Regions from separate parts of the Homo sapiens genome. Here regions 2, 3, 4, 5 and 6 are each linked to region 1. The links are contacts of gene promoters, found by promoter capture Hi-C in blood cells and fetal thymus (Javierre and others, 2016). All regions are on one chromosome and are shown on one strand. Each heading gives the region's core, a stretch centred on a gene start or on the middle of the fragment in contact. The rest is flanking DNA. Distances are from core to core; before and after follow the strand shown.

Region 1 (4,798 bases), core at 2,268-4,767:
CTGGGAGATTTGTGGGCCATCCTGGGAGTAGTACCTTTCACTTCCACTAGCTAGAATTCATTCGCATGGCCACATCTGTCTGTTAAAGAAGCCGGGAACTATAGGTATTGGTGAGAACAAGAGGTTTATACTACATTAAATGGCTCATTGGTGACATTTACGATAAGTTTTAGGGGAGTGATGTAGACAGGGGCCAACTTGTAAAAAGTTAGGAAATCATAGGGGATGAGGGATTTTGCCATGATGCCCAGGCTGATCTCGAACTCCTGAGCTGAAGCCAGCTGCCTGCCTCAGCTTCCCAAAGTGCTGGGATGGCAGGCATGTGCCACCATGCCCTGCCTGGTAGCAACTCTTTAATATGATCCTAATGATAATGAGAAAGATAAATCTGAACTAAGGTGAGAAGGTAGCCAACCATGGGAAGCTCCATTGGGTTTTTTAGGGTTTTCTTTTCTTTTTTTCTCGAGACGAAGTCTTGCTCTGTCGCCTAGGCTGGAGTGCAATGGCATGATCTCGGGTCACTGCAACCTCCGCCTCCCAGGTTCAAGCAATTCTCCTGCCTCAGCCTCCCGAGTAGCTGGGATTACAGGCGCATGCCACCATGCCCAGCTAATTTTTTGTATTTTTTTAGTAGAGATGAGGTTTCACCATGTTGGCCAGGCTGTTCTCGAACTTCTGACCTTGTGATCCACCCGCCTCGGCTTCCCAAAGTGCTGGGATGTGAGCCACCACGCCTGGCTTTTTTTTTTTTTTTTTTTTTTAGACAGGGTCTTGCTCTGTCACCAGGCTGGAGTGCAGTGGCGTAATCACAGCTCACTGCAGCCTTGACTTCCTGGACTCAGGCAAACCTCCCACCACAGCCTTCCAAGTAGCTGGAACTACAGGTGCATGCCACCATGTCCAGCTAATTTTTAATTATTTTTGTAGAGGTGGCATCTCGCAATGTTGCTGAGGCTGGTCTTGAACTCCTGGGTTCAAGCAATCCTCCCACCTTGGCCTCCCAAAATGCTGACATTATAGATGTGAGCACTGCGCCCAGCCTTGCTTTTTAATTGATGTAGAATTGAGCATGTGTTTGCGGTATTAATGAACAGGAAGAGAGATAGGACATGAGTTTGGAGTTCTATTGGGCTTAAATAAATAAATAAAATGGAGTTCCATCAGCCTTACTTAAAAAAAAAAAAAAAAGAGGCCAGGTGCAGTGGCTCACACCTGTAATCTCAACCCTTTGGGAGGCCGAGGCAGGCGGATCATCTGAGGTCAGGAGTTCGAGACCAACCTGGCCAACATGGTGAAACCCCGTCTCTATTAAAAATACAAAAATTAGCCGGGCATGATGGCACATGCCTGTAATCCCAGCTACTTGGGAGGCTGAGGCAGGAGAATCACTTGAACCCAGGAGGCAGAGGTTGCAGTGAGCCGAGGTCATGCCATTGCACTCCAGCCTGGGTGACAAGAGCGAAACTCCATCTCAAAAAAATAAAAAATAAAATAAAATAAGGATATGAGTGGAGGGTTGGCCATGGACAGAAGGAGGCCCACATCTTCTAAAAAAGAAGAAAGGACAGATGCAAATAAAGAGAAATTATGAGATAGAGAGGAGGTAAACTGAAAATCCAGTAGGATTGCTTTGGTTTCTGTAAAGTGACGAGAAAAAAGAAAAGGTTTCAGGTTGCAAGAGGACCCAGTTAAGGTGGGACAACAGGAATCTGTACTGGAACCAGTATGTCTAGTTTTGTGACTTTGTTCCACAGCCAAGGAGCAAAAAGGGAGGAAGCTCACCATGTGGTTTGCTCAAGATGGGGCTCATCATATTGAGAGCCTTTGGCACCAAAGGCACGGCTGAGCAGCCTTTGGCATATATATCAATTATTGATCCTTAAGGTCACTGTTGTCGGCTTCCTACTCCTCCCCATTGTATATTTTTACTTCCTTTTTTACTTTCTCCTAGTCTCCAGTTCTTTTTTTCCTTGCACTTTTCCTTAGGTTTTACAGTAACCACAGTGTGACAGACATACCCTAAGCTGACCCCCAATGATTCCTGCCTCCTGGTATTTACGCCTTGTGTGATTCCCTTTTCTTGAGTGCAGATGGCTCCTGTGCTTTGCTTTTAACCATAGGAGATGGCAATGATGATGGGATGCCACTCTGTCACATATATAGTAAGTTATATAAAACTCTATCATCATAGTCTGGAGCTAGAGACCCTCATTGTCAGTTTCAAGAAACTAAGTGGCTATGTAGGAGAAACCTGCATGGCAAGGAAATGTGATAATCTCTAGGAACTGCAGGTGGCTTTTGGATCCTGAGAGAGGCCTCCAGCAGACACCCAGCAAAAATCCCAGGCCCTCCTCAGTTATACAGTCACCCAGCAAAAATCCCAGGCCCTCTTCAGTTAAACAGTCGCAAGGAAGTTAATTCTGCCAATAACCCAAATGGGCTTGCAAGTGGATTCTTCCCTGGCTGAGTCTCCAGATGAGAATGCAGCCTGATTGCAGCCTTGTGAGACTAAGCAGAGGACCCAGCTAAGCTGTTCTCTGGCTCCTGACCTGGAACCTGTTAGATAACGTTTGTTTTTTGTTTTTTTTGAGACGGAGTCTTGCTCTGTCACCAGGCCGGGTGCAATGGCACAATCTCGGCTCACTGCAACCTCCACCTCCTGGGTTCAAGCAATTCTCCTGCCTCAGCCTCCCGAGTAGCTGGGACTATAGATGCCGTGCCACCATGCCCAGCTAATTTTTTATTTTTAGTAGAGACGGGGTTTCACCATATTGGCCAGGATGGTCTCTCTCGACCTTGTGATCCACCCACCTCGGCCTCCCAAAGTGCTGGGATTACAGGCGTGAGACACCGCGCCCGGCCGATAATGTTTGTTTTAAGCCTTAAATTTGTGGTAACTTGTTACACAGCAGTAGAAAATGAATACTCCCAGAATTCCTGAAAAAACACTGGGGCCCTCAGGCATGACCCCTCTACATTATGTGCTACCTAGGAAAATCTGGGCCTGGGCCCAGGACACAGAACTTGGTGAACGAGGCCAGAGGGTGTGCCACACACCTCCAGTGGGCACTCTGGACTTCAAGGTAGAAGAGGTCCTGGCTTTCAAAGCAAATCGTGTGCCCCACCTCCCCGCGCCTGCCTGCCTCTGCAAATGCCTGTCAGTTCGACCCTCAGAGATGGGCGAAGCCTGGGGAATTACAGACTGCCAGAAGTAGATCACGAAGTCCACCACCTGAATCTCGGCGTTTGGCACCGTGCCTGGTACACAGTGGACGCCCAACAAACGGCTTGCTTGCAGAACAGAAAGAGCCCTCGAGTGCGCGTCTGCTGGCCCCCTCTTTGTGCAGAAGGGAAAAGGGAGACTGGGAGGGCCGGGGACCTGCGGGGCCCCGCCGCGGGTCAGAGCTGGGCCTCCGGCCAAGCGCCATCCCGGGCCCAGGCGGAGGGGGCGCTGCGGCGGGAGGCCGCGGCGGGCGGTGGCGGCGGGCCGGGGGCGGAGCGATGGCGGGGCCGCCCCAGTGAGTGAGCGAGCGAGCGCCGCGCGCGCCGCCGCTGCCACCTCCGCTGCTCGGCCCGGTCCCGGAGTGGCCCGGCCGGCCCGCGGGGCGCGGAGCCGAGGCCCGCGGCTGGCTGCATGAAGGACTGCGAGTACCAGCAGATCAGCCCCGGGGCCGCCCCGCTGCCCGCCTCCCCGGGGGCGCGCCGTCCCGGCCCCGCCGCGTCCCCGACTCCGGGCCCCGGGCCCGCGCCGCCCGCCGCCCCCGCCCCGCCGCGCTGGAGCAGCAGCGGCAGCGGCAGCGGCAGCGGGAGCGGGAGCCTCGGCCGCCGCCCACGGCGCAAGTGGGAGGTGTTCCCGGGTCGCAATCGCTTCTACTGCGGCGGCCGCCTCATGCTGGCCGGCCACGGCGGCGTCTTCGCGCTCACGCTGCTGCTCATCCTCACCACCACCGGCCTCTTCTTCGTCTTTGAGTGAGTTCCGCTGCCTCGGCGCCCCCTCCCAGCCCCCTGCCGCGCACCCCACCTTCCCAATCCCTGCTGGGCACTCCGTGCCTTCCCCTTCGCCTCCCTGGTCCTCATCCTCCCCGCCCCTTTGGGATCCTCCTCGGGCCTCTTGTCTGCCCCCCTGGCCCCTGCGCACCCCCATCCCCGCCAGATGCCCCATCCTCCTTGGTCCATTTGGGTACCCCATCCGCGCTGGTGCCCTCCACCCTCCCAGCCCCTCCATTCTCCCTGACCCCACCCTGGCACCTGTCTGCCTGCCACTGCCAGGAACACCAGCCTCCATGCCCCTCCACGGCCCCCATCCTCGCTGCCCTCTCAGAACCTGCCCCAGGGCTTCTTGAACAGGCCCCTCCTGCTCACCCATCCCTGGACCATCTCTTGCCAACCCCCCAAGTTCTTTCTGACCCTTGTATCCCTTCCTGACCACTTCTAGATCTTGTGTGTCCTTTGGCTGTGCACACCCACCATAAACATCCTAGTCATCCTCGCTGCCCTCTCCGGGTCCCTCCAGGGTCCCCTCCTTTTCTCTAGTCTCAGACACCAACCCCGCTTTTGCTTCCCCTCAGCCACGCACACCCTAGGCCCCAAGGCATCTTTTCTCAAAATCTTTGGGCCTCTCGGGCCCCCTTTCCTTCTCCAGAACCTTCCTTAGGTTCTCCAGAGCTTCCTGTCCTTCCCTCAGATCCCGCCCGCCTCCACCCAGCCGGCTCCCAGGCCCCTGGCCCCCCTGCTGACCACCTGGCTTTCTTTCCCTGCTCAACATTCTGGAACGTCCCTCTGGCCTGTTCCACATCAG
Region 2 (4,846 bases), core at 77-2,576, 480 kb after region 1:
TCAGTCAGGCTTCAGAGCAGCCCTGGAGACAGGAGGGCCATGTTAAAAGCTTTTTCACAGTTTTAAGAAGACAAGTGGAGGGTGAGGATAGTGGTGGGGGGTCTGGCACCATCTCATTGCTTTAATCCCAGCAACACAGGTGGCAGCTTCTCCCCCTTCCTTCCCACCCCAGTCCCTCTTCCCACCCCTCTCTTCTAGCTTGGTAATGAAGTATATTTATTGGTGAAGGAAACAGCTGCTGCTGCTTCTCCTGCTGCTGGGACCTGCTCCCCTGTCTCTTCTCCGTGACCTTTCTCTAGCCAGGGAGAAGGGAGAGCAGGAGTATTGGGGCTGGGCCCTGGGGCCCAAGGACCAGCTGGGTCCCCTTTGCTTTCTTGTGTTCCAGCCACCTGCCATTTCCTCCCTGCCTCCCACCCTCCCTCCCTGCCCCCTGTCCTGCTTCCCACCCCCTGCCTGCCCAGCCTGGGCCCTGCAGTGTGGAGAGACACATAAGCCTTACTGTCCTCTGGGGGCAGGAGCCGAGCCTTTTTGTTGCTCCGCTCCCAGGAGAGTGAGGGTGACGCAATTGATTAAAACCATTTTGTTCTAGGTGTGGCTGGTGGCATTTGTGGGGTGCAGATGGGTCTTGGAACCAAAGTGAGGGCACCTGGTCCCTCACCTCTGTAGCTCTATGACTTAGTAACCACACCTCTACTGGACAGAATGAGGCCTGCCTTGAAGGGTCACCGTGAGCAGCGGCCACCCAGCCCAGCAGGGCTGAGTGCAGAGCCCAGCTCTCATGGCTGTGATTTGTAATCATCAGCTTTCACTCTCTGGCTGTTTTCTCATCAGTAAAATAAGGGACTTGGAATCTTAGTGGTTTTTCAAACCATTTTACATTGTGACCCAATATACACATGATTACTTGTAGATATGTGTGTGTGTATATATATATAAAAAAAATGAACAAAAGTTTTACACAATAATATTTACCCTTGCTACATGCAGTGTACTCTGCTTACCCTTCTGTTTTATTAGGGAAAAAAATATGGCTATAACCCACTAAATTGATTTCACATATGCAAGTTTTTGAAGTGCCCTGGATTAGATAATCTCTTAGACTATAGGTTCCTGAACTTTCTTAGCTCACAGCACCATTACCATCTCAGTAATTTTTTCATGGAGCCTCTAAGCCAAAAGAAATAACAGTTCAATTTATTAAGTAGTTAAGTCCAAATCACTTAAAAAGTATTTATGTCCTAACAAGTTAGTTGCCATTTAAAAAATAATACACCTGAATTGGAAGAAACAATATTTATTTCATTCTTTTTTTTTTTTTTTTTTTTTGAGACGGAGTCTTGCTCTGTTGCCCAGGCTGGAGTGCAGTGGCATGATCTCAGCTCACTGCAACCACCGCCTCCCGGGTTCAAGTGATTCTCCTACCTCAGCCTCCCAAGTAGCTGGGATTACAGGCATGTGCCACCATGCCCAGCTATTTTTTTTTTTTTGCATTTTTATTTATTTTTTATTTTTTATTTTTTTTTTGAGACAGTTTCGTTTTTGTCGCCCAGGCTGGAGTGCAATTGTGCAATTGCGGCTCACTGCAACCTCCGCCTCCTGGGTTCAAGCGATTCTCCTGCCTCAGCCTCCCAAGTAGCTGGGATTACAGGTGCCCGCCACCACACCCAGCTAATTTTTTGTATTTTTAGCAGAGATGGGGTTTCACCACCTTGGCCAGGCTGGTCTCAAACTCCTGACCTCAGGTGATCTGCCCGCCTCAACCTCCCAAAGTGCTGGGATTACAGGTGTGAGCCACCGCGCCCAGCCTTCATTCTTAAACAACTGCAATTACTAATGGGATCTATGCTGCCCATTGGGCACTGAACAACTTGTTAAATTTTCTAATCAAAGCAAACACTGCTGCCTTCATTTCCTGTCCCACATTGATTTTCATTTGCTTTTTATCACAGCAACCACTAAAGACCCAGCTTCTTTTTTTTTTTTTTTTTTTTTTTTGAGGCGGAGTCTTGCTCTGTTGCCCAGGCTGGAGTGCAGTGGTGCGATTTCGGCTCACCGCAAGCTCCACCTTCTGAGTTCATGCCATTCTCCTGCCTCAGCCTCCTGAGTAGCTGGGACTACAGGCAGCTGCCACCAGACCTGGCTTATTTTTTATGTTTTTAGTAGAGATGGGGTTTCACCACGTTAGCCAAGATGGTCTCGCTCTCCTGACCTTGTGGTCCACCCGCCTCGGCCTCCCAAAGTGCTGGGATTACAGGCATGAGCCACTGCGCCCGGCCAAGACCCAGCTTCTTAAAGATGACATCATCAAAAGGATTGTGGCATAATGTAATAATGGAACTGTGAACTACCTTGAGCTAATAGTTCTCTCATTAGCCAAAGATGTTGAATATCTTTCAAAATATCCTACTTTGCCCCCTGTGAATTTGCTGTGGGTGCCCTCAGGCACCTTGATGCACAGTTGGGGAACTATGGTTTAGTCTGTGGGAATAGCAGTTCCACTACTGAAACTACTGAGAGGTCCTGCCGGAAACACAATAGGTGGTATTATAAAACAGATACTGTGGGCTGGTATCATTCCTCTGTGTACCCAAATTAACGTCTGCAGAAGCTTCTTGAAGGCATTTCCAGACCAGACAAAGGAAGGACAATGTTCCAGACCAGGGAGTAGTGCAGAGTCTCAGGTTCCTTCATGAACCCTGAGTGACTCCATCTGGCTGGATTGTAGAGGGTAGACTGGAGGAGCAGTCAAACTGAAGGACTTCCTATGGCTGGTGAGAGACCACAGACTCAATCCTGTAGGCAAGGGAGGCATTGGAAGACTTCACGAGGGTCTCCATTTCATTTGGAGTTGGTACTCCATTTTTTAAAAAATTAATAGCCTTTACTTTCTAGAGCAGTTTTAGGCTTACAGAAAATTGAGCAGATAGTATAATGAGTTTCATATAACCCTCTTTCCCCAGCTCAATTTTCCCAATTATTAACATCTTGCATTAGTGTGTTGTTGTAATTAATGAACCAATATTGATACATTATGATAACTGAAGTCCATAGTTTACATTACGGTTCACTCTTTGTGTTGCAAAGTTCTATGGGTTTTGACAAATGCATGTCTCGTATCCACCATTACATTGTCATACAGAATAGTTTCACTGTTCTAAAAGCACCTTGTCCTCCACGTATTCAGCCCTCATTAGCATCCCCCCAAAAAAGTACTTAGGAATAAATCTAACAACATATGTACAAGGTTTGTATGAGCAAAACTACAAAACTGATAAAAGAAACCAAGGAAGATCAAGTAAATGGAGAGATGGTCCATGTTCACGGATAGGAAAACTCAATATTAGGATGTCAGTTCTTTCCAACTTGATCTATAGCTTCAATGTGATCCTGGTCATAGTCCCAGCAAGTTATTTTGTGAGTATCACCAACTGATCCTAAAGTTTACATGAAAATGTAGCAGACCCAGAATAGTTCCACTGTTCCACCTCCTTCTGCCTCTCCTGGTGCCGTTTGTGTGCTCATTCATTCTGTGCAGACCTGGTGCCTCATTGGTGAAGTAGCAGCTGAGGAGACTCCAGCACTCGTGTGGCTGATGAAAAGCCCAAGGAAGGAGTCAAGACTGAGAATAACAATCTTATTAATTTGAAGGTAATGGGGCAGGATTGTTCCATGGTGCAGTTTAAAATTAAAAGTCATATACCGGCCGGGTATGGTGGCTCACACCTGTAATCCCAGCACTTTGGGAGGCCAAGGTGGGTGGATCACCTGAGGTCTGGAGTTTGAGACCAGCCTGACCAATATGGTGAAACCCCGTCTCTACTAAAAATACAAAAAAATAGCTGGACATGGTGGTATGTGCCTGTAGTCTCAGCTACTTGGGAAGCTGAGGCAGGAGAATTGCTTGAACCCGGGAGGCGGAGGTTGCAGTGAGCCGAGATCGCGCCACTGCCCTCCAGCCTGGGTGACAGAACGAGATGCCATCTCATAAAAGAAAAAAAAAGAGTCATATACCACTTAGTAGAGTAATGAAAGTCTATTGTGAATGACAGAGTTTGTCAGTGAGGCAGATCAGATTCTAATTTGACAGGCAACCAGTCAATGAAACAGACACACCTGCACAGTTGGAAATGGAGGATGAAGATACAATTGATGTGTTTCAGCAACAGACAAGAAGTGTCTACTGAAAAAGGAACCTGCTTCTTTACTCTAGAACTTTGTTCTTATAGACCAAGATTACATTCTCAATTAGAAAACTGCAATTTGGTTCCACCACATCATGACTATTACTATAGTATAGTTTTCTCTATTCTTTTATTTTTCCCTTACCCATTCCCTTATTGTACATAAAATAATGGGTGTATGTTCACAAGCATTTTGCTGTTTTAAATATTAAATGGCCAATGACATCCACTTGATGTCAATCAAAACATATCTGTGGGGAAAAATACCGATTCTTGAAAATTACCTCCCTTTCTCCATCAGTGGCATGCTCATTCAACTCTTATCTTACATTGCAATGTTATTTTGTTCTCACTATTTTAACAAAAAAAAAAAATCCTTGCATACCTTATTCAATTGGAGAATTTTAATGTTTTTCATTTATCATTGTAAAACCAAGGACAATTTTATAACTTTTCGTGTATATAGCTCTTACATGTAGGGCAATCTGTCTTTAACTAGAGATAAATTACTCTTAAAAAAAAATCCTAAATAGTTTTCCTTTAAAGTCAAGCATCTTGTTGTTTAAATAAACTTCTTGTTAAAAATGGAGAAAAAGAAGAAAGACCCAGAATAACCAACATAATACTTACGAAAAACAAATTCAGAGGATTAACACTCCTGACTT
Region 3 (4,770 bases), core at 2,155-4,654, 470 kb before region 1:
AAGCTACACTGACCAGGGCAATCCTATTCTTAGGCCCCACGAACCCCAGAGAGGCCAGCCTGTTCAGCCCGAGTCTTTGGGCCTTCTCCATGAGGTACCCTCCCCTCCCCAAGAGACCTGACTCTGGGCAGGAAATGGACCCACTGCCCCCACTCCCCTCCCCCATTTCCCATTGTCCTCCTTCCTGAGAAGCTGGTGGAATTCAGAACTTTGACCCTTCCCTGTGGCCACAGCAGTGACTCAGGCTTTATGAGGGGCAGAGATGAAAGAGACTGAAGCCCCGGGAAGCCTGACCTGACTCCAGGACTGCTGGTGGCTATGACAGTGTCAGGGACAGGGTCCAAGGGGGACTGGAAGGTGGAGGGGTTAGGTAGAGCCCTGGTCATTTTCCCAGGCCAGGGCTTCCTGAGAGCAGTACACAGCCAGACACCAAAGGCTCTGGATTTTAGCCTCTCACTGAGGCCCCAGCCCACTCCCCTGTCCCCATTAGGGAGCTCCCTTTTTCCTCATGCAACCCCTGCCCTCCTCGCTGGGACTCTGCCCAAATGAAGTTTGACGCCCTCGCTGAGCACCTCCTAAGCCCCTGTCCACCTGCCTTCCACTCTCCGAGCTTCCTTGTCTCTGATGGTGCTTATAGTAAGTGGCAAAGCTTGAGCTCTAACTCATTCATTCATTCATTCAATTACTCACTCATTCAGTGCTAATTGTATCAAGGGATGTGCTAGGCCTTGGCTAGACTCAACCAGAACCAGAGCCAACTTTCTCATGAAAGGTGGCATATTAAGAAGCCAGGGGCCAAGGAATTAGACATAAAAACAGGGACATTTGGAAAGCGCCATAGGCATCAGGAAAGCGACAGGAGAGCAATGTTAAAGGAGGCGGCCGATCATGAGATCAGATATTGTCGATGACCTCCTACCAATCAGAATTTAACGTCTTTCTCAACCAGCCCAACCCCTGGACAACACCCCTGATAGCCAGTCATTCCACAAGCATGTGGTCATTGGCTTCTGCCTGCATACCTCCAGGGACAGGGAGGTCACCACTCGACAGTTCACCTGCCCCGTCCCTGAACAGTCATGAGTGCTAGAATGTCCTTCAGACTCTGCTGGAATGTGCCTGCCTATAGATGCCCCCTTTTGTCCTTGCTCTGAAGACATACCCCAATACAATGACCCAGGATGCCTCTCCTGGGCCAGCAGAAGGGGCCATTCCCAGAGCCCTTTCTTCTGCAGGGCCCCAGACCAGAAGTGGATTTGTTGGCAGCGTGACCTGTGACCTCCAAACAAGGCGTGTGGAGCTGGGAAGGGAGAGGCTGAGGAGGGGGCGGGGGGAGTGTGGGAAAGAGCCTTGTCTAACCCAACAAGTCCTGGATTCTCCCCACTTACCTGTGAGTCACCCCCAAACTAGGCCAAACCAGTCCACAGGCCCACATGCAGGCAAACACATGCTGTGTCACACAGACGCAGGCACAGACACACAGACAGATACCGACACAGACCCACAATCACACAGGCACAAAGATACACCTAGAAGCCTATAAAAACATACACAACCAGGGACACACACACAAATATACACTCACCCAAGAAATACAAACACGCACAGGCACTCAGAGCCACAACAGACACACAAATCACATACAGACAGAAACACAGGCACAGTGACACACACGTGCACACATTCACAATACACACACAGTCAATTCACAGCCCCAAGCTCTCTTCCCCTTGAAATTCACCTACCCCTGAACGTGGACACACACGCTTGGATGCACACGTATCTTACACATTCCCACTGGCAGTCCCAGCTATGTCTCACTTCTTCTCGACTCCCATATTTGCCAATCTTGGCCCAGAGAACCTTCTCCCAGGAAGGGGACATAGAAGGATGATGTTTCTGGAGGTCACCTGCCCCCCACTCTAAGTGAGCCCTAGCCTCCCACCTGAGTCTGTCATTATCCACCTGGGCCCAAAATACCCAGGTAGTGGCAGATAGAAACCACCTCCCCCCAGCTAACCCTACTTCTCTTTCCCGTCCCCCTCTCCAAGGTAGCCTCCTCCACCCCCCTTCCCTCTCTCTGCAGCCCTTGTCCCCCAGCCCCTGACTTCTGGGGCATCCAAGCAGGTCTCAGAGCCAGCCTGGGTCCTACATCTCCCTCTTCCTTGGCACGGAAGCAGTCACATTGACCCCTGCTTGGAGGACCCCAGCATTCCTGATTCTGCCTCTGCTACTACAATGCTGCCCAATCCACCGCCATAGGAGCCTAGAAAACCCTGGAGCCCACACAGCAACCTCACTCAACCCTCCACTCTCTGCACAGGGCCAAAGAGGTTTCTTCCAGGCAGGATGGAGCAGTGGTTAGAGCACAGGCACTGGAGTTATAGAAACCTAAGTTCAGATTCTAGCCCCTTCACTTTCTAGTTGACTTTGAGCAAGTGACTTTCAGAGCCTCCTAGAATTAGGTGACAGGGGTTGGGATCAGTCCCTACTCATGGGATGGTTGGGAAGATTAAATAAAATTATGCTTAGAAAACAAATTGCAAATGACAGCCACCCCATCATCCTTAAGCACCCTTCAAAACCCCACCCCAGGCTCATTTCCTCTTCAGGGTCATCCCTGGGAGGTTCCATGTTCATCCCTCCTTGATGAGCTTTGGGGGACATATCCTTCCACCTCTGCGCCCCCCAGGCAGATTTAGGAGAGTCATTTCAACACAAATAAAACTAGGCTTGGGAAACTCGACACCCACTCCTTTGGCTTCCAGCTCAGAGCCAGGTGGGGTAATTATTGCTGTCACTGAGACGTAATTAATAAGCATCCCTGCTATTTTGGCACCCCCAGTCTCTGGAGTTCAAAGTATATTCCTGTAGCCACCTCCTCCTTCCTCATTTTCAGCTACCAAATCCTCTCAACAACTCAAGGCCCAGAGAGGTTAAGCAACTCGCCTCAGGACACCCAGCACCTAGGCTGGGTGCCAATTCCCAGGCTGAGTCTGTGGCCTCCTGAACAGAACTGGGGAGTGGTGTATGCTGTGAAGAAGGCAACCCCCCTTCCTGCCCATCCTCTCCCTGACAGACTTTCCCCTTTCTCAGATGGACAGTGGGGGTGAGAAGCAGTGGGTTCCAGGAGGTAGCCTGTGGGCAAAGGGAGGGAGAGGAAGGCAGGGTTGGAGCAGGGAGGGAAGGCAGAGTCGGCTCAGGGTCCTGAATGAATGGGCCTAGAGCTGGAGAGGCCCAGGGAATAGGCAAAGTCTCAAGACAGGGCAGCCAGGCCAGTCTCCCCTCCCATCTCCACACACAGACCGACCTCTACTCACAGTCTGCGTGGGGACCCAGGTGTCCAGCCAGCCTGGAGCTCCTGCTGCTGGGCCGTGCTCCCCTGATGCGATTGGGCTCTCAGCTGGGGTTCCTGAGGCGGGGCCGTCCGGCACCCTGTGATGGGGCGTGGCCCCTGGGGAGGCTCCCACCAGCCCTCAGATTCCTCAGGGCCGCAGAGGTGTGGAGCTGGTTGGGCCGGTTCTTCACCCTCCTCCCCTGGTGCTTGCCTGTGCCCCAGCAGGGTGACAGTGATGTAGTAGCGGGTCCTCCTGGAAGAGGGACGCGTGTGTAGGGTCTGGGCAGGCTCTGGCAAGGCAGTCCCTGGGGTGGCGGGCTTGCCCTTTGTCCCCTCTGCCCTGGGGAAGGATGCAGGGTGGAGCAGCAGGGGTGCGTCTTCCAGGTTGCTGGGTGGCTCAGGCCTCAGAGGGACCTCTGAAGCTGTGGGTGGAGACTGCTGACAGGTGCAGCCTGAGGATCCCTGCTCCCCATGTCCAGGAGCAGGCCCTGGGTATTGGGGGAGCCTGGTACGAGCAGACTCTCCTGAGGCCACTTCCAGGGCCAGGCTCTCAGGCCCCAGGGAGGCATGGCTGGCCAGGTCGAAGGCGCTGCCCACCGCTGGCCTCTGTAGGCGCCCCAGGGACTGAGCAGGACCCCCCGAGATTCCTTGTTGCTTCCAAATCCAGAAATCATCATGGTCCCCTACATGGATGTCCCATTCTGAGCAGCTCTGGCCTTGGGCCTGGGTGAAAACAGAGATAGACACTGAGAGAGGCAGGGGCATAGTGACAGCTCCCCCTGCCCTCCAGGCACCCCTGGTACCTGGTATCTTCCCTGTCACAAGGAAGCTGAACAGGGCTCTGACACCAAGGTAAGCTGCCCTAGGGAGAGGCTGCTAAGGCCACCAGAGCTGGACAAAGGGACAGAGCTCTGGGAAGGCCCTTCAGCATTTAACTCACCCCTTCCCATTCTACGTAAGAGGAAAGTGGGGCCCAAAGAAGACGGCGACATGACTGAGATCACACAGCAAGCCAGCGAGGGCTCCCAACGCTCAGGTGCCGCACTCCCTCCCAGGTGACAAGGCACCCAGGGCCTGGCCGGCCATGCCCCCCAAAGGCTGGAGATCTCAGCTTCCTTGCAGTCCTGAGGTGCTTCCCCGCCCTGGGGCTGAGGGCTGGGTGGGAAGGCCTGCCTCAAGTGCCCATGGCCTCTGCCCATTCCAAGCTAACAGAGAGACTGCGGCCACCTCTCTTGTACCCTCCCAGCTTGAGACAGAACACCTGGGAGGATGTACCTGGGATATAAGGGAGCCAGAGAAGAGGGTTCCCCTGAAATGGGACAACACCTGACCTCTTCTGCTGTCTTCCCCTGGGGTCCAGCCTGGCTGTGGGGATAAGAGGAGAGGGCTCAGCACCCCAGACCCAGATGGACACTGCCCCCAAAACGACCCGT
Region 4 (4,281 bases), core at 252-2,751, 390 kb before region 1:
TTGCAAGAAATACTGGTTGTGGCCGGGCGCGGTGGCTCACGCCTGTAATTCCAGCACTTTGGAAGGTCTAGGCAGGCAGATAACGAGGTCAAGAGATCAAAACCATCCTGGCCAAAATGGTGAAACCCTGTCTCTACTAAAAATACAAAAATTAGCCAGGCTTGGTGGCACGCGCCTGTAGTCCCAGCTACTCAGGAGGATGAAGCAGGAGAAACGCTTGAACCCGGGAGGCGGAGGCTGCAGTGAGCCGAGATCGCGCCACTGCACTCCAGCCTGGGCGACATAGCCAGACTCCGTCTCTAAATAAATAAATAAATAAATAAATAAATAAAAATAATACTGGTTGTATAAGAATCTGTAAAGAATTTTTTCCTCCTCTTTCAATTTTGAGAAAATTGAACTACAAATTTGTTTTGTGAGCCTAGAATTCTTGCAACCCTTTTTTTCGTAAAGGTTCAGTAGAGCTAATGCCCTTAACTTTTCTACCAGGGTTAATTTCTGTTATTTTCATTTATGTACTGCCAAAGCGAGCACCTTTCTGTTATTTTAGAAGTCATGCTTTTTTTTTTTTTCTTTTTTCAGACAGAGTTTCGCTCCTGTTGCCCAGGCTGGAGTGCAGTGGCCTGATCTTGGCTCACCGCAACCTCCGCCTCCCGGGTTCAAGCGATTCTCTTGCCTCACCCTCCCGAGTAACTGGGATAACAGGCGCCCGCCACCACGCCCGGCTCATTTTCTGTATTTTTAGTACAGACGGGGTTTCACGATGTTGGTCAGGCTGGTCTCAAACTCCTGACCTCAGGTGATCCGTTCGCCTCGGCCTCCCAAAGTGCTGGGATTACAGGCGTGAGCCACCGCGCCTGGCCTAGAAGTCATTCTTATGGCAGAAATCTTTCTGGCCTTACCCCTTCTCTTGAGTTCGTTGGGATAGGTCTTGGGAATCCACAAATCCTAAAATATGCGTGCCTTAAGTCGGCACAAAATAGATTAATATTCTGCGCGTCTGTAAGATTGGCTGCGGCTAGAAACTCCTTCCCAGACGATTAAATCCACTAAATAAAATACGAAACGGTAACGAGATAATTTTTAAGAGTATGCACCAGTGCTCTAATGAAGCCCGGTTCTGCGGCATTCCAAGGTAAGGACGCTGCCTTACCCAGTCTCTCAGCAGTCCTAAGCTGCCTTCGACGGCCGAGAAGCGCCTCGATTCTTGCCCCTGGCTCATTTCCCTGGCGCGTTTTCCAGACGCCTCCGCTCCCAACGCTGGGCTCAACCCTGTCTTCCCCAGCTGGTCTCCCAGCACGTGGCCTGGAGCCCAGCCTCCCGCCCCGCTCGGTCACGTGAGCCTGGCTCTCACCCGCGCCGGCTTCCACACCCCGCGGGACTGAGAACCGCCCTCCCACTAGCTCGCAGGCGCAGGCGCAGGGCAGGGTCCCCTCAGTTTGGGTGACGGAAGGGGCGTGTCGCAGCGCCCAAAGATGACGTGTTCTGCCAGCGCCACGTCATGAGGAAGTGCCGGCCCACTGAAGCCGTGGGGACGCGCCCAGCGGAGCTAATCAGGTGCCACTGAACTGAAGGGGTGAACTAGAGGAGAAGAGGGTGACTGGGCGGGGAGCAGCTGCGGGAGAAGCAAAGGGACGACTGAGGGAATAATCAGGAGACCACTGAGGCGTGAAGTACTAGGCGTGCGATAACTGAAGGAGTTAGTAACTGGGAGCACAGAGTTGGAAACAGCTTAGGGGAAGATGGAGAAGGAAGAAACGGGGAATGATCAAGATGTGGGCACCATGATGTGGCAGGAAACCGACTTAGATGTTCAGAAGAAGTCAGTGCAGATACGGAGGAAATGGGAATGGGAAGAAGTCTGCAAAGCCAGGAGAACCGAGGAAAGGCTTTTGCCTCCAGAGGTCACATTGCGTTATAAAACTCTGGGTGGTAAAAGATTATAGGCTTAGACCAGTGTCTTTGGATTCTAATGCTGGCTGCTCTCCATAGTCCATCTGATTCCCCAGAAGTCAGTTATAGCTCTTCGCAAACCTTGGTGACTTCTTATTTTCTTTCTTGTTTATCCAAGATTACCTGGCTGGTGTTTGCTTGTTCTGGAGTGATCTTCTGACTGGAAAAGAACTATGTCATGGATCAAGGAAGGAGAGCTGTCACTTTGGGAGCGGTTCTGTGCCAACATCATAAAGGTGAGCAATGGCCCAGAGCACCGGTTGGCCTTCTGGTCAGTTGGATAATCTTATATAAAAACCTGTTATTAAAGTTGATGATGTTAAGTGCAATTCATGATGTTAAGTGGAATTTAGCAAGGAAACCAAAGAGTCTTAGAATGGTAACTTCCAGGTCTACATTTCTGGTAGACTTTTGTCCTAACTCTGATATTTTCTGGAAGCCCAGGCCTCTTAATGTCACTGGGCAGCCTAGACTGCTAAGTATTCTTTATAGAGAACTGAAATTTGTTTCCCTGGAACATTGATCCATTGTTCCATGTACTGTCTTCTTGATTTAAATAGGTTAATCTTTGATATATTCTTTGATCTGTCAGTAGAGCTGGGCCCGGTCACTCACGCCTGTAATCCCAGCAATTTGGGAGGCTGAGGTGGGCAGATTGTTTGAGCTCAGGAGTTGAGACCAGCCTGGGCAACATGGCAAAACCCCGATTCTCCAAAAAATTAAAAAAATAGCAGGGCTTGGTGGTGTGCACCTGTAGTCCCAGCTACTCGGAAGGCTGAAGTGGGAGAATTTCTTGAGCCCAGGTCAAAGCTGCAGTGAGTCATGATTGTGCCACCACACTCCAGCCTGGGTGACAGAACGGGACTGTCTCAAAAAAAAGAGTTCAGAACAAGACTCTGTCTCAAAAAAAAAAAAAAAAAAAGAGTTTGGGCTCTAGACGCAGACAAACATGGGTGAAATTCCTGTTCTTTTTTTTATTTTGAGATGGAGTCTCGCTCTGTCGCCCAGGCTGGAGTGCAATGGCGCAATCTTGGCTTACTGCAACCTTCATCTGCCAAGTTCAAGCAATTCTCTTGCCTTAGCCTCCCAAGTAGCTGGGGTTACAGGCATATGCTACCACACATGGCTAATTTTTATATTTTTAGTAGAGATGGGATTCTCATATTGGCCAGGCTGGTCTCGAACTCCTGACCTCAGGTGATCCACCTATCTCAGCCTCCCAAAGTGCTGGGATTATAGGACTGAGCCACTGCACCTGGCCTGAAAGTCCAGTTCTATCATTTAGTAATCATGTGACTTTAACAACTGTAGAATTATCATGAGAATTTATGAGACATTAATATAAAGCAGTTAGCATAATGTCTAGCAGTTCTTAATTATTATTAGGATTGTCTTTCAGACATTTGAAGACTATTATCTCCTATCTTCCCCAAATCTTCCCTCAGCTTTTTCTCTAGGAATCACAGCAATATTATATCTGCCTAAGACAGGTTTGAGATTGGGGCCAGTCAGCTTGGTTTTGTTTTTCAACCACAGGCTGTCAAGCAGCAGGTAGTAATGAATTTATGAGTCAGTAACCTTTATACAAGCCCCACACATGCTCACAAACAAATGCCAAGTGATCTCAAGCAGTCCAGGAAATGGGAAGTATCTCCTTGGGGAACCACTGCAGTGGTATGTTTGGAAGAACAAGCTGCATAACTTGAATGGATTTTGGGGGCTGGAAAGGCTGTATGTGAGACAGAAGTAGAAAAAGGAGAAGTGTTGATGAGGAAGCAGTCAGGGAAGAGCCCTCCCAGGTGAGGAAAAATAGGCTAAGGAGTCCATTTGTGTTATGGGAGACAACTCAAAGCTGCTCCAAGCCAAATAAGGGTTTTGTTTTTTGTGGTTTCTTTTTTGAGATGCAGTCTTACTCTGTTGCCCAGGCTAGAGTGCAGTGGTGCAGTCTTGGCTTACTGCAACCTCTGTCTCCTGGGTTCAAGCGATTCTCCCACCTCAGCCTCCCCAAGTAGCTGGGATTATAGGCACCGGCCACCATGCCTGGCTAATTTTTTTTTTTTTTTTTTTTAGTAGAGTTGGGGTTTCACCATGTTGGCCAGGCTGGTCTCGAACTCCTGGCCTCAAGTGATCTGCCCACCTCAGCCTCCTAAAGTACTGGGATTACAGGCTTGAGCCACCACGTCCGGCCCCAAGTAAGTTTTGTTTGGCTCAAAAAAAGTCTTTTTTGTTTGCTTTGAAAAACAATTTTTTTTTTTCAGACAGAGTCTCACTCTGTCGCCCAGGCTGGAGTGCAGTGGCACAATCTCAGCTCACTGTACCCTCTGCCTC
Region 5 (4,469 bases), core at 748-3,247, 410 kb after region 1:
TCTTTTACTTTTTTTTTTTTTTTTTTTTTTGAGACGGAGTCTCGCTCTGTCGCCCAGGCTGGAGTGCAGTGACGCGATCTCGGCTCACTGCAAGCTGCGCCTCCCGGGTTCACGCCATTCTCCTGCCTCAGCCTCCCGAGTAGCTGGTTCTACAGGCGCCCACCATCACGCCCGGCTAATTTTTTTGTATTTTTAGTAGAGATGGGGTTTCACCGTGTTAGCCAGGTGGTCTCTATCTCCTGATCTCGTGATCCGCCCGCCTCTGCCTCCCAAAGTGCTGGGATTACAGGCGTGAGCCACCGCGCCCAGCCCGGGAGTATTTCTTAATTCACTAGTAGCACTTATCTCCCATGGTAAGTATTCAATAAATGTTAGATATTATTCAGTTTAATTAACCCAATGACCCTAACCAAGGTTGCAGCCTGAACCTGGGGAGCTGCAGATAGATGATCTCAAAGCTTTCTTCTAGTCCCAAAGTCTATGATTTTTTATATTCAGTAGAACAGCTGTGGTGGAGAGTTCAGGGGGAATGACCCACAATATTTTTAGGAGAAAGGCATAAAAGGCTTTGTGAGCGGTTTCACAAGGATAGGTTCTTACTCCTCTAAATGGGGAGAAATCTCCCTTGCGGAGAAATCACCAGCAATTAGAATACTACCTTTGTCTCTGGGAGTATTCAGGTATTCACAGACAAATTCGTACTCATGATGTGAGCAGAATTGGAAAAAAAAAAAAAAAAAAAAAAAAAAAACAAGCGACACATGGAGTGATAAACACTATAAATGCCAAATACATATATTCAGTCCTTACTGAGAGCGGGTGCTGTCTGGTTTTCACAGGAAAGACAGGCAGTGTTAAAAGGCTCAGACTCTGGTGTCAGGCAGATCTGGGTCTAATTCCCAATTTGCCAACTTATCAGGACCCCGGGGGCAAGTTGCTTTTAGCCTTTCTGCTTCAGCTTTCCTTTTCTGCAAAACACAGACAGCAATAGTACCTAGCTAAGAGACTGTACCCAATCCAGTGCGAATAAAAGTGAATTATTGTTAGTATCTGACAAATGGCACCCTATGGGTGACAAGTTTCCTTTGTCAGAAGGTGACACGTCTTCCCTTTCTGACTTGAGGTTTCACGGGTGGGGCCTGGTCTCTGCCTTAAGAAGATAGGCTTAGTGCCACCCTTGTCACCTTGGGAACTTCCTTAATAAAGAGGAGGGTCTCTCCTCCATCAGACCCGGGACTCCACAAGGCTGGAACTGCGTCTCTTCCTCAGAGGTGGGAGCAGCAGTGACTCCGCTAGGGTCAGATGGACCTAGTCGCTCCCATCACCCCGAGGGCACCCAGAGTGTGTGTGGCTGACTCCTCTCCAGGCTACTCAGCGTAGGCCCGATTCTCTTTCATTCTCTTCCTTAAGGCCCAGGAGACGTCAGTGAGGACTGTGCCACTTCAGCAGCCCCCCAGAGCAGGAAGGAGTGGGCTGAGGAGCCCCCCGGGGCCCTAGCCTGAGAGGTCCCAGAATTCGGGGGCTGAGAGGAAGTCTTAGGAGCTCTTAAGGGGCTGTGAGGGGACCTGGGGTTCAGTGGGCGAGCGTGTGGGCGGGTGTCCCAGAAGCGGTGTGAGGAGCGTTTTACCCGGTGGTGGGGTGGGAGGTGCGTCCGGGTAACTAATGGCAACCGGGCGGGGTGAGCCCGCTCTGCAGGAACTCCTCGACGGCGAAAAACTACGACTCCCAGGGTGCCCCAGGGCTTAGCCCAGCTTTCCCGCCCGCCCACTGGCTGCCGGTCCCGCAAGCGGCGAAGCCCATTGGCCACGGCGGTGCGGGGCTCCCCCACTAGCAGGTTAGTGGGCGCCGCCGGCAGCAGACGTTGACCGGGCGCGGGGGGGTAAGTGGGGGGGCCCGGCTAGCCATTCTGGAAGCGGCCGGGCGCAGTCTTCGTAGCGTACCCGCCGGCTGCGAGGCGCAGGGCGGAGGCGGAGACTGCGTGGCGCAGGCGCGTTGCTGGGCTTCTCCTGGGTCCCCAGACAGCTGGAGGAGATAAACAGAGGAGGAGGAGGGAGGGGAGTGCGTGTGTGAGAGCGCGCGAGGGAGTGTGAGTGTGTGTGAGCGCGGGTGTGAGGCGGTGCGCAGGGGCGGGCGGAGGCGCTGTCCGGCCCCGGCCAGGCGCCGGGCGGGGAGCATGGGAAGGGGCTAGAACTGCTCGAGCCCCCCAGCCCCCTCCCCGGGATCCGCGCCCCCCTTCCCGGGAGAGGGGCCGCCCCCCCCGGACGGACATGGGCTCCTGAAGTTGCGCCGCTGCCGGTCGGGGGAAGAGACCTGACAGGTACGGGTCACCGCCGCCCCCTGCCCTCCGCGGGCGCCGAGGCGGGGACCGGCTCCCGCAGCCCCGGTGAACGGGCCGCCCGCTCTGGGCCGGCTCCAGCCCTGCCGGCCTGGGGGCCTGAGCCTACCCGCCTCGGGGCCCCGGGTGTCCCGAGAGGGGCCAGGCCTCGCCGGGGCGGAGGGCAGAGTGGTCCGGGGGCGGGGTGGGGGCGGAGGGTTTGGTCGGGACGCGGGGGGAGGCTGTGGGAGTCCGGGGAGGCTCTGCGGAGGGAGAGGTGGAAGTCATTCCATCATGGGACTTTTTTGCGGAGTTTTTGTTTGACATCTGATCTGGCGCCGGAGTCAGGAAGAAGGGGCAGGTGTAAGTGCTGGGAGGGCAACGCCGACCTGACCTGCCCTCTTAGCTTCTCGCTCTCTCTCTTTCTGTTTTTCTCTCTCTCTTTCTGTGTGTGTGTGTGTGTGTGTGTGTGTGTGTGTGTGTGTGTGTCCACAGCAGATGCCTTCAGTGGCCCATCCTGGCACCAAACAACTCTGCCAAGGTGTTTCCACCAGGCGACTGTAGCACCCCGTATACAAAGGGCCTCTGCTTGGGAACGGGCTATTCAGTACCCACTTCAAAGGGTAAATAGGAAGTGAGGAGATAGAAGAGAGACTGCGAACCAGCAGGATCCACTTCTTGGACTGAAAGCCGCAGTGGGACGCCCCTTTGCCAGATTGGTTGACTTTGCTTGGTGGCTTGGGCTCTCTCTCCTCTGCGGGTGTACTCCCAGGGTTTCTAGAGGAGAGGTACAGGGGCCTGTAACTAATGTCTTAATAGCCGAATTTGACTGTTTTCCCCAGAGTTCTTTTCTTCTGTGACTTTCTTTAACCTCCTGAAGTACTGGTAGAGCAACGTTATAGTTTTTCTCTCAAGTTGGTGATTTTAGGAGCCTGGTAGGGTGGCTGAAGCTTCCCCATTCATTCCAAGGATGGGGTAGATGATCTGGGTAAAGTGGCAGTGAAGTCTTCCCTTTCTAACAAAGCCTGAAACCGTTTTGAGAAGAAACTATTTTGAGGGCAGCTTCTGACTCAAAGACGTTACGAAATCCCCACCTAGGACACCGGTATGCCCAGTGGTCCCTACTAAGCTTTTCTGTGTCTTTTAGAGTCGTTGAGTGGCCAGCTTCTGCTCACTGTACTGAAGGAACTACTTAATGCTATTTCTGTCTTGAGTTCTGGCTTATTCTTCCTTGTGATTCTTATATCTTTAGCGGGATTGAATTGAATTTTTGCTGTTGAGTGTAATAGCCAGATCCTCTGTAACAGACCAGGGAGTAACTAGTTGGGCTCCTTTGGGCCAAGTCTGAGACTTACTGAGGTTTCTTCATTGTAGGTTGTTGTATTTCGTTGGCAGGTGGGAAATGACCTTTTCCGTCATAGTTTGTGATCATGCTGCTTTAAGGCTGGAGTCCTGCTCTCCTTTCCTTTTTTGACCTATATGGGAGCACTTCTGTTCGAGTCTTATCTCAATTTGAAGGAACAGTGCTTTTGGATCAACTCTGCCGAATAATTGAGCAGTAGCCCATATTTCTGCCTGGGACACCTTCATTGAGGGTCACGAGGGAAAGAGAGAACACGTGTAAATATTATGATGATGATGTTAACAACTATTTACCAGTTTCATACAATTGACAGTTTTTTTTAGCCGGGAGGAGTTCAGTATTGACTCATTGGGCATCTTATGTAGGGTGTTTTTGCACACCTAGACTTTAGGATCTGGAAAGACAACTGAAAATCTTGAAGCCCACTGCCAAACATTTGTGGATCTTGGGCCAACTGCTAAGGAAGATCTAGACTATGACTTGGTCTTTAATTATTTTTATTTTTTTCTCCTTTATGTATGTATGTATTTATTTATTTATTTTTTGAGATGGAGTCTTGCTCTGTTGCCCAGGCTGAAGTGCAGTGGCGCGATCTCAGCTCACTGCAACCTCAGCCTCCTGGGTTCAAGCAATTCTCTGCTTCAGCCTCCCAAGTAGCTGGGATTGCAGGTGCCTGCCACCATGCCCAGCTAATTTTTGTATTTTTAGTAGAGATGGGGTTTCACCATCTTGGCCAGGCTGGTCTTGAACTCCTGACCTCGTGATCCACCGACCTCGGCCTCCCAGAGTGCT
Region 6 (4,270 bases), core at 699-3,198, 510 kb before region 1:
AGTGCAGTGCCACAATCATGGCTCATTGCAGCCTGGGCCTCCCAGGTGCAAGCAATCCTCCTGCGTCAGCCCCCAAGTAGCTGAGACTATAGGTTTGTGCCACTATGCCCGGCTAATTTTTTTTTTTTTTTTTTTTTTTTTTGAGAGATGGGGCCTTCCTATGTTGCCCGGGTGGTCTCAAACTCCTGTGCTCAAGTTATCTGCCCGCCTCAGCCTCCCAAACTGCTAGGATTACAGGCGTAGCCCCTATGCCCAGCCTCTGTTTTTTTCTTTGGACTCAGCCTCAGCCAGATCTCCCCTGGGCTTGCAACACAAGGCCCAAAACAATAGAAGAGAAGTGAGGGGAGTTTTCCCTTTACTACCTAGCATGTAAATGAGGCCTAAAGTAGACTAAGGAAGGGAGAGTGTGAAGGGAGAGTGGGCCAGAGCTGGGGTTGTGGTGACCAACTCCTGGGGCCTGGGGGGAGTTTGTGTAGGGGAGGGGGAGGGAGTGGCAGGGAATCAAGACTTAATGGATGAATTCTAGGGCAGCCCCAGAGGTTACATACATGGCTGTGGCTTCAGACAGACCTGGATTCAAGGTCAAATGAGACTGGCTCCACCATTTACGACCTTAGCAAGTCACTTAACATCTAAGCCTCAGTTTTTTCACCAGTCAAATGGGGATAAACATAACACCTGCTGCAGGGCACCACAGAGGGTATCAAGTGAGGGAATGCATAAAGCATGGAGCACTATCCAGGCAGCTGTGGGATTCCTCTCATCCCCCCACCCCTCCCTGGGCCCTCACAGCCACTCTCTCACCCCAGTCCCCTTCCACTGTAGCTTAGTCACCCACTTGTCCCTTCCCTCGCTCCCCTCCCATTCATCCTCAGCTAATACAAACAACCCATCTGCTTGCTACTTTCTCTACCAAAATCACAAAATTCTAGGTCTTGGCTGGGCGCGGTGGCTCATGCCTGTAATCCCAGCACTTTGGGAGGCCGAGGCAGGCGGATCACTTGAGATCAGGCATTCGAGACTAGCCTAGCCAACATGGTGAAACCCAGTCTCCGCTAAAAAAAAAAAAAAAATACAAAAAATTAGCCAGGCATGGTGGCACACACCTGTAGTCCCAGCTATGCGGGAGGCCAAGGCAGGATAATTGCTTGAACCCAGGAGGTGGAGGTTGCAGTAAGCCGAGATCATGCCAGTGCACAGAGCAAAACTCTGTTTAAAAAAAAAAACAAAAAAACCAACAACAACAAAACAAAACACTAGGTTTTAACAAACTTCAGAAATAATCTATTTCAGTCTTCCCAGTTCCTTGAAATGAGGAACTGAGGCCTAGAGAGGGAAAGCCCAACTGAAACCAGGCTTCCCGATTCCTCACCTCCAGCACCTTCACAGAAATCCACCAACCCTTCCACAATCTAAACATTTCCCAAGCTTTCATTCAGAACCTGCAGCCCATCTACAACCTTCCCTTGAAACATAAATCTATCCCAGCCCTTCTCCTTCAGCTCCTATACCCTGCCCCAATCTTCTTTAAACAACAAACTCATTTACGGAATATCTGCTATGTTCTGGCTCTTTTTAAATTGGTTATTATTACATGTAATCCGGCAGTTCTTTTGTTAAAGGGTCAGAGAGGTAGAGTTTCTGGCCCAGGGTCTCAGAGCTGGTCAGTGATTAAACCAGGATTCAGCCTGCAGGATGCATGATTCCAGGCCTTGGGCCCTACTTACTCCCACCGTTGCCTCTGGATTGACCTCTCTCCTATCTTGTACGATCTAGCCTGCTCCCCCAGCCAGGGCCTTAGAACCTAGAGCCTGGTATTATCCACCCCCAGATCTGCAGAAAGGAAGCCACACCCCTCCTCCACCTTGTAAGCCCTCCTTCCTCTCCCTACCTCACCCCGCCTCCTCTGCCTCCTGGTTCAAAAGCAGCTAAACCAAAAGAAGCCTCCAGACAGCCCTGAGATCACCTAAAAAGCTGCTACCAAGACAGCCACGAAGATCCTACCAAAATGAAGCGCTTCCTCTTCCTCCTACTCACCATCAGCCTCCTGGTTATGGTACAGGTAAGAGCAACGCCTGGCACCACTGCCAGGACTCCCCAAAGTTGCTTGGCATGGAGGGAGGGCATACAGGATGTGAGCTCCCAGAGACCCAGCCTTCTCTCCTGAGAGCACAGCAGATGGACTCCAACAGGAAAACTGGGGACACAGCGGGCCTGGCCGCCCAGCCTTCCAGCTCTTCTGGCTGGGGCTGCACTGCTTGCGGGCTGCCCTGAGAGAAACCTGTATCCACAGCTGGGGAGCACTTACAGGGTGCTAGGCGCGTTGGGGCACCCAAGGGGTGTTGTGGAATAATAGAGAACTAAGAGACTTGGGAAGACAACCCTGAGTGAGGAAGGCATCGGCCCACAGGGAGTCTGGGGAGATGGTCCTTTGGGGAGAGGCCAGGAGATGTCCAAGTGGAGCCTGCTGTGGTTATGGAGGTGACAGGGGACACTCTAACCCCCACTCCCCTGCCAGAGAGAAGCCTGGATGTTCAGGAATGCAAAGAAGACAGGACTCTCCCATTTCAGAAACAACTGGAGTCTCAAAAGCGACTGCTATTCCAGGAGGCAGCTTTGGTAGCATCCCAGGTGCCCAGAGGGGAGTCAGTACAGCAGACCGGAGCCATCAAGTTCTTGATCAAGAACAGCTTGATCACCATCAAAACCAGCTTAATCTCCATCAAGAACAGTTCTAGTTGCAGCTCCATCAAGCATTAAGGACAGCTCGATCACCATCTGGCCACTTCCCCACCCCACATCCAGCCACCCACGCTTTGCCAAGTGCTTTCTCACTCAGCCCTGGCTCATGTGACCTTCACAACTGTGATGAACTTCTCCCCACTCAGAAGATGAAACTGAGGCTCAGGGAAGCTAAGCCCTTTGCCAGGCTAGGAAGGTCAAGGGCCAGGGCTCCCCTGTCTCCCTCTATGCCAGAAGGGCTGGTCGCTGGGGAAAGGTGAAAAGAAAGGTTCTGTGACCGGGCACGGTGGCTCACGCCTATAATCCCAGCACTTTGGGAGGCCGAGGCAGGCGGATCACCTGAGGTCAGGAGTTCAAGACCAGCCTGGCCAACATGACAAAATCCCGTCTCTACTAAAAATACAAAAATTAGCTGGGCGAGCCGGGCGCGCTGGCTCGCGTCTGTAATCCCAGCACTTTGGGAGGCTGAGGCGGGTGGATCATGAGGTCAGGAGATCGAGACCATCCTGGCTAACACATTGAAACCTCGTCTCTACCATAAATACAAAAAGAAATTAGCCGGGCGTGGCGTGGTGGCGGGCGCCTGTAGTCCCAGCTACTCGGGAGGCTGAGGCAGGAGAATGGCGTGAACCTGGGGGTGAAGCTTGCAGTGAGCCGAGATCACGCCACTGCACTCCAGCCTGGGCGGGCGACAGAGCAAGACTCTGTCTCGGAAAAAAAAAAAAAATTAGCTGGGCGTGATAGCGGCTGCCTATAATCCCAGCTACTCGGGAGGTTGAGGGGTGGAGGTTGCAGTGACCCGAGATCATGCCACTTCACTCCAGCCTGGGCAAAAGAGCGAAACTCTATCTCAAAAAAACAGAAAGTTTCTGTGAAAGGGGGTGGACAGGGGCAGTGATCACCTCTGTCCCTGCCTGTGTCAAAGCAGGAAGCAGTCAAACATCCTGACAGGACCTTGTGGAAGAAGTAGTGGTCACATGGGGCAGAACTGAGGACTGTTTTATGGAGGTGGGCGGATGGAGGGCGGGGAGGGTAGAAAGGGGACTGCATCTTTAAATAACAAACACGCTATTCAAAAGTCCCCTGAGGGCTGGGTACGATGGCTCACACCTGTAATCCCAGTACTTTGGGAGGCCGAGGCGGGTGGATCACCAGGTCAGGAGTTCGAGACCAGCCTGACCAACATGGTGAAACCCCGTCTCTACTAAAAATAGAAAAATTAGCCGGGCGTGGTGGCACGTGCCTATAGTCCCAGCTACTCAGGAGGCTGAGGCAGGAGAATCACTTGAACCCGGGAGGTGGAGGATGCAGTGAGCCGAGATCGCATCACTGCAGTCCAGCCTGGGTGACAGAGTGAGACTCCACCTCTAAAAAAAAAAAAAAAAGTCCCCTGATCTTATCCCACTTCTCCTCCTACAGATACAAACTGGACTCTCAGGACAAAACGACACCAGCCAAACCAGCAGCCCCTCAGCATCCAGCAACATAAGCGGAGGCATTTTCCTTTTCTTCGTGGCCAATGCCATAA

Evidence for each region. Contacts are between HindIII fragments. The CHiCAGO score rates a contact against its expected background, and 5 or more counts as called.
Region 2: a fragment that was not itself captured here is called in contact with the fragment with the promoter of ZDHHC18 in region 1 in 5 of 17 cell types (monocytes, erythroblasts, M2 macrophages and 2 more); the score reaches 8.8 in monocytes.
Region 3: the fragment with the promoter of CRYBG2 here is called in contact with the fragment with the promoter of ZDHHC18 in region 1 in 4 of 17 cell types (fetal thymus, activated CD4 T cells, neutrophils and 1 more); the score reaches 7.1 in fetal thymus.
Region 4: the fragment with the promoter of DHDDS here is called in contact with the fragment with the promoter of ZDHHC18 in region 1 in 6 of 17 cell types (total CD4 T cells, total B cells, fetal thymus and 3 more); the score reaches 7.0 in total CD4 T cells.
Region 5: the fragment with the promoter of WDTC1 here is called in contact with the fragment with the promoter of ZDHHC18 in region 1 in 11 of 17 cell types (monocytes, non-activated CD4 T cells, neutrophils and 8 more); the score reaches 14.4 in monocytes.
Region 6: a contact is called between the fragment with the promoter of CD52 here and the fragment with the promoter of ZDHHC18 in region 1, in 13 of 17 cell types (erythroblasts, activated CD4 T cells, total B cells and 10 more). The highest score is 13.5, in erythroblasts.

Annotation. Positions count from the first base shown.
Region 1 is chr1:26,823,171-26,827,968 of GRCh38, forward strand. ZDHHC18 (zDHHC palmitoyltransferase 18) reads left to right here and starts at 3,518. Exons shown (of 8, transcript NM_032283.3): 1 at 3,518-3,969. The coding sequence starts at 3,635. RefSeq lists silencers at 3,300-3,452, 3,416-3,565, 3,576-3,785. The HindIII fragment of the contact is 7,154 bases long and covers 1-4,798 here.
Region 2 is chr1:27,307,655-27,312,500 of GRCh38, forward strand. It overlaps WDTC1 (WD and tetratricopeptide repeats 1), which reads left to right. Exons shown (of 16, transcript NM_001276252.2): 16 at 1-982. Among named protein-coding and RNA genes, the nearest start is that of TMEM222, 12 kb to the right of the region's middle. RefSeq lists enhancers at 1-127, 128-653, 654-1,178. The HindIII fragment of the contact is 2,559 bases long and covers 48-2,606 here.
Region 3 is chr1:26,350,726-26,355,495 of GRCh38, forward strand. CRYBG2 (crystallin beta-gamma domain containing 2) reads right to left here and starts at 3,405. Exons shown (of 20, transcript NM_001039775.4): 1 at 3,311-3,405. RefSeq lists a silencer at 706-904. The HindIII fragment of the contact is 7,544 bases long and covers 648-4,770 here.
Region 4 is chr1:26,430,820-26,435,100 of GRCh38, forward strand. DHDDS (dehydrodolichyl diphosphate synthase subunit) reads left to right here and starts at 1,502. Exons shown (of 9, transcript NM_205861.3): 1 at 1,502-1,557; 2 at 2,072-2,189. The coding sequence starts at 2,127. LOC124903883 (a long non-coding RNA gene) reads right to left here and starts at 1,418. Exons shown (of 2, transcript XR_007065557.1): 1 at 1,154-1,418; 2 at 1-299. RefSeq lists enhancers at 721-1,257, 1,042-1,101, 1,172-1,231, 1,258-1,794, 1,332-1,821. The HindIII fragment of the contact is 8,751 bases long and covers 1-4,281 here.
Region 5 is chr1:27,232,635-27,237,103 of GRCh38, forward strand. It overlaps WDTC1 (WD and tetratricopeptide repeats 1), which reads left to right and starts at 1,998. Exons shown (of 16, transcript NM_001276252.2): 1 at 1,998-2,317. WDTC1-DT (WDTC1 divergent transcript) reads right to left here and starts at 1,795. Exons shown (of 3, transcript XR_947117.2): 1 at 1,628-1,795; 2 at 811-968. RefSeq lists silencers at 1,818-1,877, 2,078-2,227, 2,418-2,467, 2,628-2,677. The HindIII fragment of the contact is 2,806 bases long and covers 457-3,262 here.
Region 6 is chr1:26,316,010-26,320,279 of GRCh38, forward strand. It overlaps CD52 (CD52 molecule), which reads left to right and starts at 1,949. Exons shown (of 2, transcript NM_001803.3): 1 at 1,949-2,062; 2 at 4,162-4,270. The coding sequence starts at 2,009. It also overlaps a transcript of UBXN11 not described here. RefSeq lists a silencer at 1,739-1,931 and enhancers at 2,006-2,075, 2,206-2,355, 2,729-3,714, 2,856-2,955. The HindIII fragment of the contact is 1,957 bases long and covers 1,427-3,383 here.